Regions from separate parts of the Homo sapiens genome. Here region 1 is linked to region 2. The links are contacts of gene promoters, found by promoter capture Hi-C in human tissues and cell types (Jung and others, 2019). All regions are on one chromosome and are shown on one strand. The core of a region is centred on a gene start or on the middle of the fragment in contact, and the rest is flanking DNA. Distances in the headings are between cores, read along the strand shown. Region 1 overlaps LOC105372049 (a long non-coding RNA gene). Region 2 holds the start of DSC1 (desmocollin 1).

What was found. The method cuts DNA at HindIII sites, captures the fragments that hold promoters and counts their contacts. A contact is called where the count stands out against the background at its distance.
Region 1: a fragment that was not itself captured here is called in contact with the fragment with the promoter of DSC1 in region 2 in 2 of the 25 tissues and cell types used here (aorta and neural progenitor cells).

What each region holds. Positions count from the first base shown.
Region 1 is chr18:31,247,691-31,250,414 of GRCh38, forward strand. LOC105372049 (a long non-coding RNA gene) reads left to right here. Exons shown (of 4, transcript XR_001753388.2): 2 at 2,634-2,724. Among named protein-coding and RNA genes, the nearest start is that of DSG1, 69 kb to the right of the region's middle. The HindIII fragment of the contact is 4,740 bases long and covers 1-2,724 here.
Region 2 is chr18:31,161,528-31,164,227 of GRCh38, forward strand. It overlaps DSC1 (desmocollin 1), which reads right to left and starts at 1,329. Exons shown (of 16, transcript NM_024421.2): 1 at 1,005-1,329. The coding sequence starts at 1,067. It overlaps DSCAS (DSC1/DSC2 antisense RNA), which reads left to right. Exons shown (of 4, transcript NR_110785.1): 4 at 1,008-1,262. The HindIII fragment of the contact is 13,832 bases long and covers 1-2,700 here.

The sequences.
Region 1 (2,724 bases), core at 103-2,602, 86 kb after region 2:
CACCACAAGTCAGAGCTGCTAACTACCGCTTAGGTACTAGAACCACCTCCCTTGTGAAGTGTTAATGGCCTCAGCCCAGCTCCTAGCAGACATCTGTCTACATCACACACAAAATAAATTTAAATTGGCAGTGTCTGCAGAGAAAATGACATTTCATGGATGTGGAAATAAACCAACCCTTCAGATAAGAAATGACCTCACATTCTAGAGATAGTCTCTTCAGGGTGAGCTCTGAGAAGCCAAACTTTTTCAATTCCTTTCTCACTATTTCCTGACCCATAAAGAACAGACAAAACAAACGATGCCCTCAGACCTTTTGCAATAAGAAACACATCAAACTCTATGAGCAATTAGAGCTATTGTGTAATAGTGGTGATGCACGTTTCTAAACGTATTTCCACTTCTGTTTTACCTCAGTTAAACACTCATATATTCTCCTAATGGTATGGGATAAGGGGAACCGTGCAGGTGTCAACTATAATTATTGTTTTCCCTGTTTTTAGTCAGAGATATTTGTCCCTCACCTCTGTTGAAGAAAACATACATAACCAGAATGGCAAATAAACTGGTTAGCACTTTGACATACTCTAAATATTCTCTATCAACATGACCAATGCATTACAAATGAGCAGCTACATTTTAAAAATATTGATGGAAACCTCCAACAGTATCTTTGCTTCCATTTCGATTCATGCCACCTAAGATATAAGCACTATAGGTAATATTGATGAGAATAAACAATACCAAAGCATCTTTTGCACATTATCCCATTTCAGCTTTCTCTTGGATGTTATCGAGTAGTAGTGTAGATTATTCACATTACCAATATGGGTGATAACTCACCAAAGTTTTTTGTTTGTTTGTTTGTTTGTTTTTGTTTTTGTTTCTGTTTTTTGAGTCAGAGTCTTGCTGTGTTGCCCAGGGTGGAGTGCAGTGACACGATCTTGGCTCACTGGAACCTCTGTCTCCCAGGTTCAAGAGATTCTCCTGCCTCAGCCTCCTGAGTAGCTGGGATTACAGGCACCTGCCACCACGCCTGGTTAATTTTATTTATTTTTATTTTTTATTTTTTGTATTTTTAATAGAGACAGGGTTTCACCGTATTGGCTAGACTGGTCTTGAACTCCAGACCTCAGGTGATTCGTCTGCCTCGGCCTCCCAAAATGCTGGTATTACAGGCGTGAGCCACTGCACTTGGCCTCATAAAAGTTTTTTAAGCAAAACTAATGGACCACAGAGTTATTCATTCTTGACTCTAAGCATCAAACTTATACACATACTTGAGGTTTGTATATGAACATGCATGAGCCTGCAGGGGAAGGCTATGGTGTTAGAAATAAAAGTCATTCTTGTTTGCCAGAAATGTATATCTGAAACTAAGTCACTTAAATTAGTCAAGAAGTCTCCAGAGAAACAAAACCAAAAAGAGATTTAATATAAGGAATTAGCCCCCCTCCATAATTGTGGGCAAGTCCCAAGCTCTCTGCAGGGTGAGTTGATGAGCTGGAGACCCAAAGAGCAGATGATATAATTCCAGTCTCAGCGCCAGCAGACTTGAGACCAAGGAAGAGCCAATGTTTCTGTTTGAGTCCAAGGCAGAAAAAAACCTGATGACCAAATTCAAAGGCAGTCAGACAAAAGGAGTTCCCTCTTACTCATAGACAGTCTGCCTTTTTCAGGCCTTTGACTGCTTGAATAAGGCCCACTCACATTAGGGTGAGCAATCTGCTTTACTCAGTCAACCAATTCAAATGTCAATCCCATTTGAAAACACCCTCACAGAAACACCGAGAATGATGTTTCACCACATATCTGGGTGTTCCATAGCCCAGTGAGGTGGACACAAAATTAATCATTATACCAACACTAGTATCAATACTGTTAGGATGATTCCTTTTCATCAGTAATGAGCCCAGAAATATGTTAAGATACGGATCAAATAGAAGATCATCATTCATCATATTGAATAATCTATTGATGGAGTAAAAATTGTTTCCTCTTCCACTGATTGTATTATAGGTGGTGTTTGGTGAGCTATACCTGTCATTTAATGCAAAAAAGAATTCAGATGATGCTGGGAAATTTTAATCACGAGTGTTCTTTACATAATAGGTATCATGATGGCAGTGAGGTTTGGAGTGAAATGTGTGGAGTGGGACTGAGGGAATGGTTCCAGGAAGAAAGAAAGCAAAAATAATGATAATAATAAAATAATCAGGTTGTTTTCTCATGGGAGCAAAGCAGGCATCCGTTTTTTTCTGCCTGAGCACAAGACAAACACCAAATAAACAGCAAAAGTTACTTAAAAGCCATTTCTTCAATTTCTCCCAAATAAGGCCAGAATTAGTTATAATTGAAACAGAAAAAATGTACAGACAGAGTTCCAGATATAAGATCAGGATATTTAAAAACAATGGAATCCAGTCAATGTGTGAAAAATTTTTCAAAAGCTTAGGTGTCAACTGGTCAAAATTAGAATTCTGCATTGATAGGAAATTCTTCAGTTTATAAATCTTAACAAAAAATGGTTCCCTTGTTTTTACCAGCTAGAAGGAAATCTAAGAAGTTTGACTTTAATTCCTTCAAAAATACAGAAAAATCATAATCTTCTCTATTCCTGTTTGTTACATAAGTTACAGATTCACATGAAGTCCCAGGATAGCTTCTGTCGGCTTTGGTGGCCTGTTGCAGCAGCCAGCAGCAGGAAACTTGAGGAGCTATCAT
Region 2 (2,700 bases), core at 79-2,578:
CGTCTTCAGGTTAAATCACTGACTAAGTGGCTTAGTGACACCCTTTTAGTCAGTTTCAGAGTCAGAAATAAATAAACAGGAGATGAATTGTCCAAGAGATATTAGACAGTACAGGGATCAGAAGCAAAAGAAATGTGGGTAGAATCCTTTGAAACATTTTTACCACATTTTACCAAACTTGTACTAACTTAAGATGGTATCTGAGTTATCGTCTCCCTAAGCAGTTACAGGATGAGAAGGTGACCATCAACCCTGCATTGTATATTATTTACATGGAGAAAATGTTTGTCCTCATACCTGCCATTTCTAAAAATATATTTTGAAACTCAAGTATTTTGCTAAAATGAAAAAATAGGAAACTCACACCTCAGAAATGATGGACGGATGTGTGAAATAACCCCCCTCTCTTCCCTCACCTCCAAAGAAAAAATAGCACCTTACACAGTTACAAAGCTATTAAAAACCCAAGTGGAAGCCAAGTTGAGGATATTTTCAATGACAGTCACATTTTTGTTATTTTTCTTAAACTATTCTTTGCTTAAACTGCTTCGTGGGTAAAATTCAAAAAGTCCTGGATAATTTGCATGTTCACCCAGAATCCTTTCTCTTTTTTTGCAGCTTAGTAGAACTCAGCATGTTAAATAACATGAGTTTATGTAATCACTGGTAGCAGAAGTAAACCTCAGAAACTTCTGGGCCAAATGCCTAAAGAATGAATTCACTTCTCTACTCTTAGAAAATCACCACAGCAGGATGGAAGAGGGATTCCCTTGAAAACTTTTAACACTCTGGCAGTGGGTGCTTGAGAAGTAAGCTGAACACTTTCCATCCTGAATCCCAAGCCTCTCAACTCTTCCCTGAATCTTCCTCAGATCTGCTTTTGTTTTCCCCAATCTCTCTTCTCTGCCTCCCATCCTCACTCCTAGTCTCTTTCAAGCCCAAACTGCAGAGAGGAAGCAGGTAGTAACATGCTTGAATTCCCTAATCCTTTGGTTGTTACTCACCAGGAGAGAGAAAAGGAGCTGCTTACAGAAGATGCTCCCTGGGGCAGCAGAGGCCAGAGCCATCAGAAGCAGTCCCAATGGCCAGGGACGGTGGCCAGATAACAGGGCAGCCTGGGATGCACAGAGCGGCTAAGAAGACGCTGGCACTTGCACAGGGTATTCTGCTGCCACCTTGATGCAGCTGAGCTTGGTTTGGAAGACAGTCCGGAGGCAAGTGATAAACAGTAGGAGGAGCAACGGGAGAATTTCTTTCCCCCTATTCCCTGGCCAGTCTCCTTCCTTCCAGTTCAATTACGTCTAAATGCAAAGAGGCTTTCCTACAAGTGAGGAGGGTGGGGTACAAAACACCCCAAAACCCAGTCAGTAGCTCCTCCTCACAGCAGCTTTCAAAATTTCTCTTGCCACTTAACACATAGGCAGAAGGAGGAGGGAACACCCTTCATCCTCAGCCCTCCTCCCTTTCCCCCAGGTTGATGCTGTGAAGTCCTCCCCAGTTATTACCCACTCCCACAGCCTCCCCTCCTTCTTGGCCTTATTAACCTGTCTTGCCCTCGGGTACAAACATAAATTGTGCACAAACGCCATGCAAGGAAGTGATGCCTCCTCAACTGCCATTGGCAAATCAGAGGACCTAAGCGTGTGTAATCACACTCATCAGAAGTTATCTCCCATCTAAGCATTTAAGTGTCATCGGTCCTGTAGAACACTGTAGTTCTGCTAGAGAACTGGCATTCCAGTTTAAAGCAGCAACTTCATAAAGGCATGGTATCTACTTCCTGTTATTGACTATTCACTGTGGTTGGTTCTCTAGATGTCACAGGAAACTTATCAGAATGTAAAGACTTCATAAAAGAAAGAGAATAAAGAAATAGCTAGCATATAATCTTTCTTGTGGCTTTCCTTTTGTTGTACAAGATGCCACTGCTTTTTACCTTTATATTTTTTCAAGGACAACTACAATCTTTGAGAGCAAGTCTCTCTAAAATCACTCTATTCACCCTAATTACTTGTACATTACACATAGGATATCCTAGCTTAATAGTACAATCAGGCCATCAAGTGTAGATTTTTTTAAACCCTAATGATTCCTCTAACAAGAGCTTTAGCATCATTATTCCTGTCCCAAATTAGTGAGCTCAGTGATACCAATTGCACTCAATGGCAGTGATGGAAGTTAGGACAGAAGGATAAATATTTTCAAATGTTAAGGTAGAGCCCAACACCCATGCTGCTGAGAAGGGAGGAAAGAAAGGTTTTCTTCAGCTTATTTGACAATGGGAACAATTTCTCCTTGTATGTAGAGACAGAAATAAATGTAACTGCTTCATTAGAATTAGAAGCTAGGAAGATTTGGAAAATGAATGACCCAGGAGAAAAAAAACTAAAAGATATCTTGTAGTATTTTATTGCTAGTGGTATACCCACTAATAAACATATTTTGTGACTGCATTGGAATTTGATTTCTCAATCAGAAAATACAGTCATTTTAATGGAATATTTTTATATCTGGCGTTTTGGGAGAAAAGAATGGGAATATAGAAATAGAAAAATTACTTAGATGTATATGTGTACAGCCAAGTGTAATTCTGTGCATGTTTAAGCATCATCTAAGTATATATTTAGATAGATAGATAGACAGATAAATAGATAGTCATACAGCTTAAATAATTCAAAGACAAATTCTCCAACCCTAGAA